Regions from separate parts of the Homo sapiens genome. Here regions 1, 2 and 3 are each linked to region 4. The links are contacts of gene promoters, found by promoter capture Hi-C in blood cells and fetal thymus (Javierre and others, 2016). All regions are on one chromosome and are shown on one strand. Each heading gives the region's core, a stretch centred on a gene start or on the middle of the fragment in contact. The rest is flanking DNA. Distances are from core to core; before and after follow the strand shown. Region 1 has its middle 32 kb from the start of ZFP90. Region 2 overlaps ZFP90 (ZFP90 zinc finger protein). Region 3 holds the start of WWP2 (WW domain containing E3 ubiquitin protein ligase 2). Region 4 holds the start of CHTF8 (chromosome transmission fidelity factor 8).

The links. The method cuts DNA at HindIII sites, captures the fragments that hold promoters and counts their contacts. A CHiCAGO score of 5 or more calls a contact.
Region 1: a fragment that was not itself captured here is called in contact with the fragment with the promoter of CHTF8 in region 4 in 4 of 17 cell types (fetal thymus, naive CD4 T cells, naive B cells and 1 more); the score reaches 6.3 in fetal thymus.
Region 2: a fragment that was not itself captured here is called in contact with the fragment with the promoter of CHTF8 in region 4 in 4 of 17 cell types (total B cells, naive CD4 T cells, total CD8 T cells and 1 more); the score reaches 7.8 in total B cells.
Region 3: a contact is called between the fragment with the promoter of WWP2 here and the fragment with the promoter of CHTF8 in region 4, in 17 of 17 cell types (total B cells, activated CD4 T cells, non-activated CD4 T cells and 14 more). The highest score is 32.7, in total B cells.

The regions. Positions count from the first base shown.
Region 1 is chr16:68,505,845-68,508,544 of GRCh38, reverse strand. No RefSeq gene overlaps it. Among named protein-coding and RNA genes, the nearest start is that of ZFP90, 32 kb to the left of the region's middle. RefSeq lists an enhancer at 20-520. The HindIII fragment of the contact is 8,227 bases long and covers 1-2,700 here.
Region 2 is chr16:68,548,617-68,551,379 of GRCh38, reverse strand. The region is part of intron 2 of ZFP90 (ZFP90 zinc finger protein); the gene reads right to left. Among named protein-coding and RNA genes, the nearest start is that of ZFP90, 11 kb to the right of the region's middle. The HindIII fragment of the contact is 165 bases long and covers 1,419-1,583 here.
Region 3 is chr16:69,760,927-69,763,626 of GRCh38, reverse strand. It overlaps WWP2 (WW domain containing E3 ubiquitin protein ligase 2), which reads right to left and starts at 1,295. Exons shown (of 24, transcript NM_001270454.2): 1 at 1,236-1,295. RefSeq lists silencers at 819-868, 889-1,048, 1,069-1,208 and an enhancer at 912-1,490. The HindIII fragment of the contact is 2,162 bases long and covers 1-1,893 here.
Region 4 is chr16:69,131,288-69,133,987 of GRCh38, reverse strand. CHTF8 (chromosome transmission fidelity factor 8) reads left to right here and starts at 1,400. Exons shown (of 4, transcript NM_001039690.5): 1 at 1,400-1,504. It overlaps DERPC (DERPC proline and glycine rich nuclear protein), which reads left to right and starts at 1,400. Exons shown (of 3, transcript NM_001002847.4): 1 at 1,400-1,504. UTP4 (UTP4 small subunit processome component) reads right to left here and starts at 1,339. Exons shown (of 17, transcript NM_032830.3): 1 at 1,299-1,339; 2 at 370-530. The coding sequence starts at 528. RefSeq lists silencers at 1,291-1,650, 1,671-1,820. The HindIII fragment of the contact is 3,017 bases long and covers 311-2,700 here.

The DNA.
Region 1 (2,700 bases), core at 94-2,593, 630 kb after region 4:
CACAGTGGATCATGCCTGTAATCCCAGCACTTTGGGAGGCCGAGGTGGGCGGATCACCTGAGGTCAGGAGTTGGAGACCAGCCTGGCTAACACGGCAAAACCCCATCTCTACTAAAAATGCAAAAATTAGCCGGGCATTCTGGGCGCCTGTAATCCCAGCTACACGGGAGGCTGAGGCTGGAGAATCACTTGAACCTGGAACCTGGGAGGTGGAGGTTGCAGTGAGCCAAGATCGTGCCATTGCACTCTAGCCTGGTCGACAAGAGCGAAACTCCATCTCAAAAACAAAAAACAAAAAACAAAACCAACAACCCTGCACTATGACGGGTCCTTAAGGAGTGAGTCATGGGCTCTCACTGCACACCAAGGAGCCCCACATGTGAAAATGCTTCTAGAAACATTGAGTGCTTGTAAAGACCTACTGCTGGGCATATTGGCCCTATTAGAGGGAACATTTTATCACACGAAGGCACAGGTAGGTTGTTTCATGGTAATTGCTTTCCTAAACCATAGAGAAAAACGCATCACAAACCCAGCACAGTTAACTAAAGTGGTCACATTCCTCTTCTTTGATTTAAAGCTATTTAGAAATATTAGCAACTGACTTTGCCTCCAGGTTGTCGGTGCTTTTTTTTCTCGACTGTAACTTTTTCTTTTGAATCCCATGAAATATCCTGAGTACACCAGGAGGGAGGAATGAAAATATGTTTGCATTTCCAGCTCTGCAGCCAACTGCTACTCAGACAATACCCTCAATGTGTAACCTGGGAGTTTAATATTCTCAAATATTTATAATTACGCAGAAACAGCCCGAAGAAATGTTCAGCTTCTTCACAGCTGGATAATTATCTACATTCAATGTTCACAACCTCAGAGCTGCTTCTCAGAGTTTGGGGTGCCTCTCTGCCACTTGGGCATGCAGAGTACATGGGTTCTGTGGGCAGATTCCTAACGGGGCATAGAAGTGGCATGGGGAGATCCCATGCCAGCGTGCTCTCTCTCTCTCTCTCAAGAGTCCTGCTCTGTGGTACAGGCTGGAGTGCAGTGGTACAATCATTGCTCACGGTAGCCTCGAACTCCTGGGCTCAAGCAGTCCTCCCACCTCAGCCTCCCGAGTAGCTGGGACCACAGACGCATGCCACCGCACTTGGTTATTATTTTTTAAAATTTCAATAGGTTTTGGGGGAACAGGTAGTGTTTGGTTACAAGGATATGTTCTTTAGCGGTGATTTCTGAGATTTTGATGCACCCATCACCCAAGCAGTCTACACTGTACCCAATGTGTAGTCTTTTATCCCTCACGCCTCTCCCATTTTTTTTTCGGACTAATTAAAAAAAAATTTTTTTTTTCGTAGAGACGAGATCTTACTTTGTTGCCTAGGCTGGTCTTGAACTCCTGGCCTCAAGCAATCCTCCCACCTCAGCCTCCCAAAGTGCTGGGATTACAGGGGGAAGAAAGGCTCAATCATTCCCAGCAAATTCTGTAATGGACCCATGAATAAAGTCCTACATTGAAGAGTCCCTGCGGAAGTGTCTCATGGAGTCCCAGATGCTCCCCACAAAAGGATGCTGTGGTCAAAGCAGCGCTGCCTCTGTCTGCCTTTGGAGAGGCACCATGCATTCTGCTATTCATACATTTTCTCCTTGCCTGGCATCTCTCCTGCTGCTCCCTCTGTTCCACGCATATTTCCAGAAGAATATCAAGAAAACTATTTTTCCTGCATAATTACCCGCCTCCTCTCCACCCACCTCCACACATCTTTTCGGCTTTGACGTGGCAGCTGCTCTGATTTCTTTAAGTGGACTGCATTCTGCATTTACCAGGCAGGTGGAATTCTATGAAGGGAGCCTCCAGCCGAGGCTGGGAGTGAGGGCCCTGGGCATGATCATCCCTCCCTGCACCAGACCTGCGGCTCCCCTGTCTGCATTGAGGTCCTCCTTCCCACAGTCCCTGGGGCACAAAGCTATTGGTTCCTGAATGAGTGTCACCAACCAACTGCCTGGTCCTCCTTCTCCCAAGCCCAGGCTGCCTCAGTCCTGACTCTGTGACCTGAAAGGAAATTCCTCTTTAGTGAGATCAGCTAGCATCTTCTCAGTTGTAGCTTTCAGAACAGTAGACCCAAACTAGCACAAACTAAAGAGAATGGGCTGTCCCATGGAACCAAACAGTCTTGAAGCCCCAGCTGAGGTTCAGGCGGGGCACTGTCGCTGCTGCTCTGGAATTCTTTCCACCTGCCTGCCTTGGGCTATGGGCTTCATCTCCAGGCCAGCCATGCCCAACACAGCAAAGGGTTCAAAGATGTGCCAAACCCTGGTTCACGCTCTGACTGCCTGGAAGAGCCAGCAGTTCCTTCTCCAGGTGGCTTCTACAAATTATCAAGAAAGCATCTTCCCTTGCTGGGTGTGGTGGCTTACACCTATAATCCCAGCATTTTGAGAGGCTGAGGCCGGTGTATCACTTAAGGTCAGGAGTTTGAGACCAGCCTGACCAACATGGCAAAACCCCATCTCTACTAAACATACACAAATTAGCTGGACTTGGTGGCAGGCACCTATAATCCCAGCTGCTTGGGAGGCTGAGGCAGGAGAATTGCTTGGACCTGGGAGGCAGAGGTTGCAGTGAGCCGAGATCATGCCAGTGCACTCCAGCCTGGGCAACAGAGTAAGACTCTGTTTCTAAATAAATAAATAAGAAAGCAT
Region 2 (2,763 bases), core at 252-2,751, 580 kb after region 4:
GGATCTTGGCCAAATGGTTGAGCCCAAAGCAAGGAACTAGGAACAGCATATACTAAGTTGAGAAGACTCAATTTCATGGGCTCCTAAAAAGCTCCATAATGAATAAATGCATAATATCCTTGAGTAGATCTCACACCTCCTGGAGATCCAATTACCTCATCAATAACATGAGTTCCCTGAACTACAGAAATAAAGAGTTTTATGAGCAGATGGGGTGAAAGGGCACTTCCAGAAAGGACATGTACAAATACAGTTTGCCCAATCAGAAAACATCACATTTACGGCAATACAGTGTGGTATCTCCACTTAAGCACTAAGTGGCCTCTGATACCAGATTGATCATAGTTTAACAAGCCGATAGTTGACCGTGTAACTAACAATGGTGTACAGAGAGAAGAACATCACTGTCAACCTTTGCACACACACAGATTCCTACTGCATCACCATCTGCAGTATTGAAGACTGGAAACCTGGACCTCCTCCTTGACTCTTCATTTTTCCTTTATGCCTTGCAGTCACCAAAAGCCTCAGAAATGTCTCCTGAATTCAGTCCCTTGCCTTCATCCTTCAAATCCAGCTGAAATCCTCCCTTGCTAATGACAGCATTAATCCAGGGAATGGCAATCTACAGCCACACAGTCTAATATGGCAGCCACTGGCCACATGTGGCTATTCATTATGTTTTTAAATTAAGGATTTAGATGTTCACCCAATTACAAACTGGTTTTAAATGCTAGGAGGAAAAGAAAAAGAGCAGACAAACTTAAAAGTCACACTTGCAATGTAGCTAGTCCAAATGGGCATGTGTGATTAAGCAAAATACACACTGGGCCAGGCGCAGTGGCTCACACCTATAATCCCAGCACTTTGGGAGGCTGAGGTGAGTGGATCACCTGAGGTCAGGAGTTTGAGACCAGCCTGGCCAACATGGAGAAACCTAGTCTCTACAAAAATACAAAAATTACCTAGGTGTGGTGGCACATGCCTGTAATCCCAGGAGGCTGAGGCAGGAGAATGGCTTGAACCCAGGAGGCGGAGGTTACAGTGAGCCAAGATTGCGCCACTACACTCCAGCCTGGGCGACAGAGTGAGACTCTGTTTCAAATAAATAAAATAAAATAAAATACACACCGAATTTCAAAGATTTACTATCAAGGAAAGAATGTAAAATGCCTCATTAGTAATTTTAAAACATTTATCACATGTAGAGATGATAATATTCTGGATATATTGTTTTAAATAATATTTATTACTAAAATTAATTTCACCTGTTTCTTTTTATATTGTAGCCACTAGAAAACTTAAAATTACACATGGAATGTGTATTTCTTTGGCACACCACCGTTCTACATTGTTCTAGGTCTCCACCTCAGGCCATCTTTCTCTCAAATGCTGCCTCCTGTCATATACCCAAAGCTTCTGCCACATGGACTCTTTGGCCCAGTAACAACATTTTCTTTTGTGTTTCTTTGCCTTTATACATCCTATTCTGACCATAATGTACTTTCTTCCCTCAGTTCCACAGGAAAAATTCCTAGTCATCCTTGTAGAACCAGTTCACTGTTCCATTCCCTCCTGAAGCTTCCCCACATCCTCCGTGCTCCCCATCCCCCTTCAGCATTTGGTCCCCATCTCCATTTCAGAACCGTAGCCATCTAGTTACATTTTTCTCCCTCAAGACTTTTTTTTTTTTTTTTTTTTGAGATGGAGTCTTGCTCAGTCGCCCAGGCTGGAGTGCAGTGGCACGATCTCGGCTCACTGCAAGCTCCGCTTCCCAGGTTCACGCCATTCTCCTGCCTCAGCCTCCCGAGTAGCTAGGAGTACAGGCACCCGCCACCACGCCCAGCTAATTTTTTTTGTATTTTTAGTAGAGACGGGGTTTCACCATGTTAGCCAGGATGGTCTTGATCTCCTGACCTCGTGATCCACCTGCCTCAGCCTCCCATAGTGCTGGGATTACAGGCATGAGCCACCGCGCCCAGCCAAAAATTTCTTAAACTCCTTTTCATTTCAGTATCTCTGACACTGCAAGTGGAGAGTGTCCAGAATCACCTGGGCAGCTTTTCTAAATTGTCCATGCATGGAGGGTCTTGCCCAGCATCTTTTAAAAGCTCCTCAGGTGGTTCATTATCAAAGAGCAACAGCTCAGATTTCTTGAACACTCGCTGCTAGGCAAACACTAAACTCAGTCATTTACGTGCACTCTCACCACATTTCCTCACTGAAGCCTTGTCACCACCCCAGAGGAAGCAGGCACCACTTCCTGACTGGTTCTGAAGCATGACCCTGGTTAAGAACCACTGCCTGGCATAGAGCAAGCATTCCAAACACGTCTGCTGAGTGAATGGATACAGAATCTGGGTAATTCTCAATGCAGGAAAATGAGGAGTTGTTTCGAGGATTAAAAAAAAACACATGGGTTAGTGAATTAAATTCTTGGATTATAAAAAACAGAGGCAAACAGAAAAACGATGGCATTAACAGCCAAATCTAAGGCTGGTTCCTCTTAAGCACCAGCCAAATAGAAAAACCTCTGATAAATCGAGTAAGAAGAAATTTTTAAAAGATGAACTTAAAGATAGGAGGATAAGGCTGGGCACAGTGGCTCATGCCTGTAATCCCAGCACTTTGGGAGGCCGAGGCGGGCGAATCACCTGAGGTCGGGAGTTCGAGACCAGCCTGACCAACATGGAGAAACCCCATCTCTACTAAAAATACAAAATTAGCCGGGTGTGGAGGTGCATGCCTGTAATCCCAGCTACT
Region 3 (2,700 bases), core at 46-2,545, 630 kb before region 4:
AGAATACATCTTCCCAACCTCACTCATAGGCGCTGCTGCAAAAACTAATTTTTAAATGTTTGTCAAATAACTCCAAAAACTTGAACTCATAATACATTAGGAAAGTACTTTTTCCTACTTGTAACCCAAAACGATGCTGGCTGCTGTGAATGTCCAGTTTGAACATTCGTTCCAGTTACACTGCACTCATGAAACTCCTTTTGCTTCTGCAAATTTTAGTAAACATGAGAAACAGGAAGATGAACAGGCTTTAACACAAGTATTCAATCTCAAAATCATGATCCAGGTCACAGTTCTAAGGAACATAACACAGACCTCTCAGGCACCCTACCTAGTTACAGTTCGTCAAGATAAGCAGTCACAAGATAAGCTAAGGGAAACTGAATAATTTAAACGGAAGAAAGAGAAAAGTCATAAAGCAGTCTAGGTAGACACTTCTCTGTCCAAGATTTCAGCAGTCACTATGTTGCTGAGGTAACGCTGGGCTAGGTCAACAGTGTAAGCTAAAAGCCATTTTACAGGCAAAGTGCCCACACTTATTTTTTTAATTTATTTTCTTTTTTTGTTTTTTAAAGCCTCGATGATGGCCCGTTCAGGGAAAATCTCAAAGAAAAATGAGCTGAAGGGCTAGGCTCCCAAGAAGTGGAAACCCTACCCACGCAGGACTAAGTGGGCGCGAGGGAAGCAAGACGATCAAGATTCTGTGATCCCTCCTGAAGTTTAAAAACTGAATGGGACCGTCATCAAAGTCTCGGGTAACAATCATTTCCAAACAGGAAGGAAGGGAGAGACTCTCAGAGGGGGTCCAGGCAGCATCTTTTTCCCTCTGGCTCCACGCCATAAACCCATTTTCAGGCACCCCCTTCCAGCTCAGTTCCAAGTCGCCCCTTCCCCTGGTCCCGATCCCTCCACAAAGATCGCTCCTCTCCATGCCTGGGAACCTAAGCTCCTCTCCCCTTCCGGGAGGACTCGCTCCAGCTGCACCCTTGGCGGCCGGGGCACCCATTTCGGAGCAACCCCCGCGCGGGCCGCGGCGCGCCCACCCCACTCGGGCGGGAGCCGGGACACCCCTCCTCGGAGGCCGGAACCGCCGCGCCAGGCCCCTCCCACAGGAAGCCGCCGCCCCCCGACGCCCGGGCCGCGCCGCCCCCGGCCCACCCCGCGCCGCCCGCCGCCCCCGGCCCGCCCCGTGCAGGCAGCCAGCCCACCGCGCCCCCCGCGCCAGCGCTCGCTACCTGCCGTGGCCACAGAAGCGGCGCCGAACTCCTCTCCTACTTCCGCCTTCCACCGCCCGCACTCGGGCCGGGTCACGTGACCGCGCGCGGTCACCTGACCCGGAAGAGGCTGGCCAGGCTCGCAGGTGCGGGCCACCTAGGCCTGGCCTGGGCACCTCTGGCCTCGAGGAGGCCTTTTTATCGTCTCTGTAGTTGAAAGTGGAAGGGTTTCTGCTCACCGGATGGTCCCAGGCAATCAAATAAATTGAGGGCTCACTGAATGCCACCTACTCTGCCCATCAACCTTATAGAGGCAGGGACAGGTACTAGCCCCATTTTACAGGTGAAACGAGACCTTCAGACTGTTAAGTCAGCAAATACTTAATTGAGCTCCTTTAGTAGGGTTGCCAGATAAAGTACAGGACACCCACTTAAATTTGAATTTCAGATAAACAACAGTGTAATATGTATGTCCCAAATACAGAATGGGACATATTTATACTAAAAAAAGTATTTTTTGATTATCTGAAGATCAAATTGAATTGAGTATCTGTATTTCTATTTCCTGGCAACCTTATGCCTATTATGTGCCAGGCACTGTTCTAAGATCCAGGACCACAAACATCTCAGCCTTTGTGGGGCATCTGTCCTTGTGACATGAAGCAAAAGTACAAAAGCTTAAAAACTCCTGCTTGGCTCCATAAAAAGCCCCTCCACACTAATCCAATCGCATTCCCTTAATCTACAACTACAGGGCACAGAGAACTTAATGAATTATAATCCAGGTAGGTAGGTAGGTAGGTAGGTGGATAGATAGATGATATTTTTTTTTTTTTTTTTGAGATGGAGCCTCGCTCTGTCGCCCAGGCTGGAGTGCAGTGGTGCAGTCTCAGCTGACTGCAACCTCCGTCTCGCCGGTTCATGCAATTCTCCTGCCTCAGCCTCCCGAGTAGCTGGGATTACAGGCGTGCACCACCACGCCTGGCTAATTTTTGCATTTTTAGTAGAGACAGGGTTCCTCCATGTTGACCAGTCTGGTCTCGAACACCTGACTTCAAATGATCCGCCCACCTTGGCCTCCCAAAGTGCTGGGATTACAGGCATGAACCACCGCACCTGGCAGAGAAATATTTTTTTTAAGAGATGGGTCTGGATAGGTTGCTTTGGCTGGGCTCGAACTCCCAGCTTCAAGCAGTCCTCTTGCTTCAGCCTCCCAAGTAGCTGAGACTACAGGCGAATGCCACTGTGCCTGCCCAATAACTTTATTTATTTATTTATTTATTTATTTATTTGCTTGCTTGAGACAGAGTTTCACTCTTGTAGCCCAGGCAGGAGTGCAGTGGCTCAATCTTGGCTCACTGCAACCTCTGCCTCCCAGGTTCAAGCAATTCTCCTTCCTCAGCCTCCTGAGTAGCTGGGACTACAGGCACCCACCACCATGCCTGGCTAATTTTTGTATTTTTAATAGAGATGGGGTTTCACCATG
Region 4 (2,700 bases), core at 151-2,650:
TTCTGAATTGACAATGAAACAGTACTGATACTCCCTGCAGGAAATTTTGCTTACCAAAGCTGCAATGGTGTTGAGACTGATATACCAACAATTTCCCTTCCTGTGTCCAAAAGATCCAGCAAACCTCAGTTTCCAATGACAGGCAGTGAGATGTCACATTTCTAGGTAGGACCCTTCTAATCAACATTACACAGATTGAAACTGAGCTTCTCTTATCAGTTAGGAGATCTCAGAAGTTTGGTAGTTCTAAGCAACTTCAGAGGGGCTAGGAAGTCACTCAATCAGTTTGATTATAAAAGACATACAAGCTTCTTGAACTTCAGAAGAAATTAACATCAAAACACCATATCAGACTCCCAAATGACTTACTTTCTCCTGAAAGTAGTTTGCTGACAAGTTATAAATTTCCACAGTGCCATCTGTTCGTGAAACAGCCAATCTGTTTGACTGGTTATTGTAAGCCACACAGCGGATTCCTGATGGAACATAATTAAAGAAACGTACTCGATGGACCTTAAATTCACCCATTCCTAGGGGGCGAAAAGAGAGTCATTATTGCTATATGTTAACTGCAGTATGTCACATATAGTATTCAGTTCCTTAATATCACTGTTCTGGCTGGAAGGCTCCAACAACATCTCCCTGAAGTTCATTTCCAAATGGCTGCTAACAATGCCCCCCACAAGAATTACTCAATCTTCAAAAGCTCAGAATGGCTTGAATAATAAGGAGGCTTCAGCAAAAAATCAAAAAGGGTCCTACTCCATAGCTCCAGAGTTCCTATCTCGGGGCGCCTAGGAATCCGCATTTTAGCAAGCATCTCTCCTCAACTCTATTGCTAAGTTTGCAAACAACAGACCTAAACTGAGGTAGTGACAGTGAGGCTGATGGGGCAGGCAGAACCGAGCTCCTCTTGAGGAAGAAACGACAGGGTTTGACTTAATCTGGCTGCCTGGTCTGACGTCTGTCACTTACCCTACCCCGTCCCCCCGACGCCCGCCAACATATATACTGGCCGAGAGTAGAGACCAGGTCTTGTTCGCCCCTCACTGGCCTAGCTTCAAGGTTAGGAACCCGCAGACAGAGCAAGCGCGTTCGGTCGGGCCGGGGCGTCTGAGGCGCGCGCGGTCTTCGCCTCCCCTTCCCTCTCCCCGAGTCTACAGAGTAGCCCCCACCCCGCCTCGGGACAAGGAGACCCTCGGGACAAGGAGCTCAGCCGGACGCCGACCCTGGGCCGGCCACCTTGTAAGACCCCCCCAGCTCTCGCAGCCGCTTCCCACGCCCCTTCCCCAACTCACCAGCGGCCCCACGCTCCCCTTCCCGGTGCTCGCCTCTCTCCGCCCCGGCCCCACGTGCGCGCGCGCTCTCAGGCTCTGCCCCGGAAGTGCTCCTGGCGCATAGTCGGAAGTGCGCAGGCAGTGCTCGCGGCGGCGGCGACGGCGGCGGGAGGTTCGGTTGTCGCCCGTTGGCCGCGCGGCGCCGCGCTCGGCGGCCGCCATTGCAGGTCAGGCCGCGGGCGGGGGGCACGGGAGGCTGCGGGGAGCGAGGGCCGAGCCGGGATTGGGGGCGAGGGCGCGAGGGAGCGGGAAGCTAGGGAGCCGGGGCCGGGCGGGGCGCGCGGCTCGGAGAGAAGAATGGCGAGCCGAGGGGCGGGGAGCGCGGGCGGGGGAGGGGTGGCCGGGAAGGGGGAGGGCGGCGGGAGGGCGGCGCGGAGGTGGGGGCAAGCCCGGAGGGGCCTCCGGGGTGGGAGGGCCAGGAGTGTGGGGGAAGGGAGCGGTGTGGAGACGGAAGGCGGAGGGAAGGAAGGGAGCGAGCGGGGCGGAGCGGGAGAAGGGCGGAAAGGGTGGCCGAGCGCGGGCGGAGGACGGAGAAGGGGGCGGCGAGGGCCGGAATCTCGAGGTACGTGCGGGAAGGGGCTCTTCCCGGGGTTGGGAGGGAGCCCAGCCCGCTATGCTTGCGGGAGCGGAGTAGAACTGGAACCTAGGAAGTAGCGGGAAGAGCAGAAAGGGGAGTTCGGGGTGGGGGTTAGGACCGTGAGGTTTTGTTCCAGGTAACATTTGTAATCGTGGAGGGGGGAGGCTTCTGGGAGAGGTAATTGGAAGGGTGGTTGGAGAGTCATTCCAGGTTCTTTTGTGGGAGGGAAGCCGAGAGACGAGTGGGGTGGGGTCCTGGAGGAGTGGAGTACTTGAGAACCGGGAACAATTTGGAGAACGAGGGTGGTAGAGAAAGGACGTTTAAAGAGTAATCTTTGGGAAGAGGGTGAACGGTTTGGAAGACCACTCCAGTGGGTGGTGTGGAGGAAGGCGGTTTAAAGAATAGTTTCCCTGGGAGGCAGGAAAAGGGGTTAAAACAGCTTGTAATTTGGAGGGGGGTGGAGAAGAGGGGGGAAGCGGATTGAGAAGTCCCAGAAAGTGGGTGGGACTAGAAATAGGAAGTGTTTGTAGCTCTAGCAGAAAGGGTGGGAGGGGGCCGAGAGGGAGTGGGTGGAGAAGATGGGGGTGGGTGGGAGGAAGAGCACAGAGGGAGACTCTACGCCGGGCTAGAAAGGAAAGGGTTTGGGGGAGTACAGGGGGCCGTACCATTAAGAGGAGGACAGGCTAAGATGGGGCTGCAGAGTAGCAGAAGATGGAGAAAACTGCAGTAACTCAGATCGACTGAAGCCATCTTTTCCACCCATTGCTACAAATACCAGTAATTGAT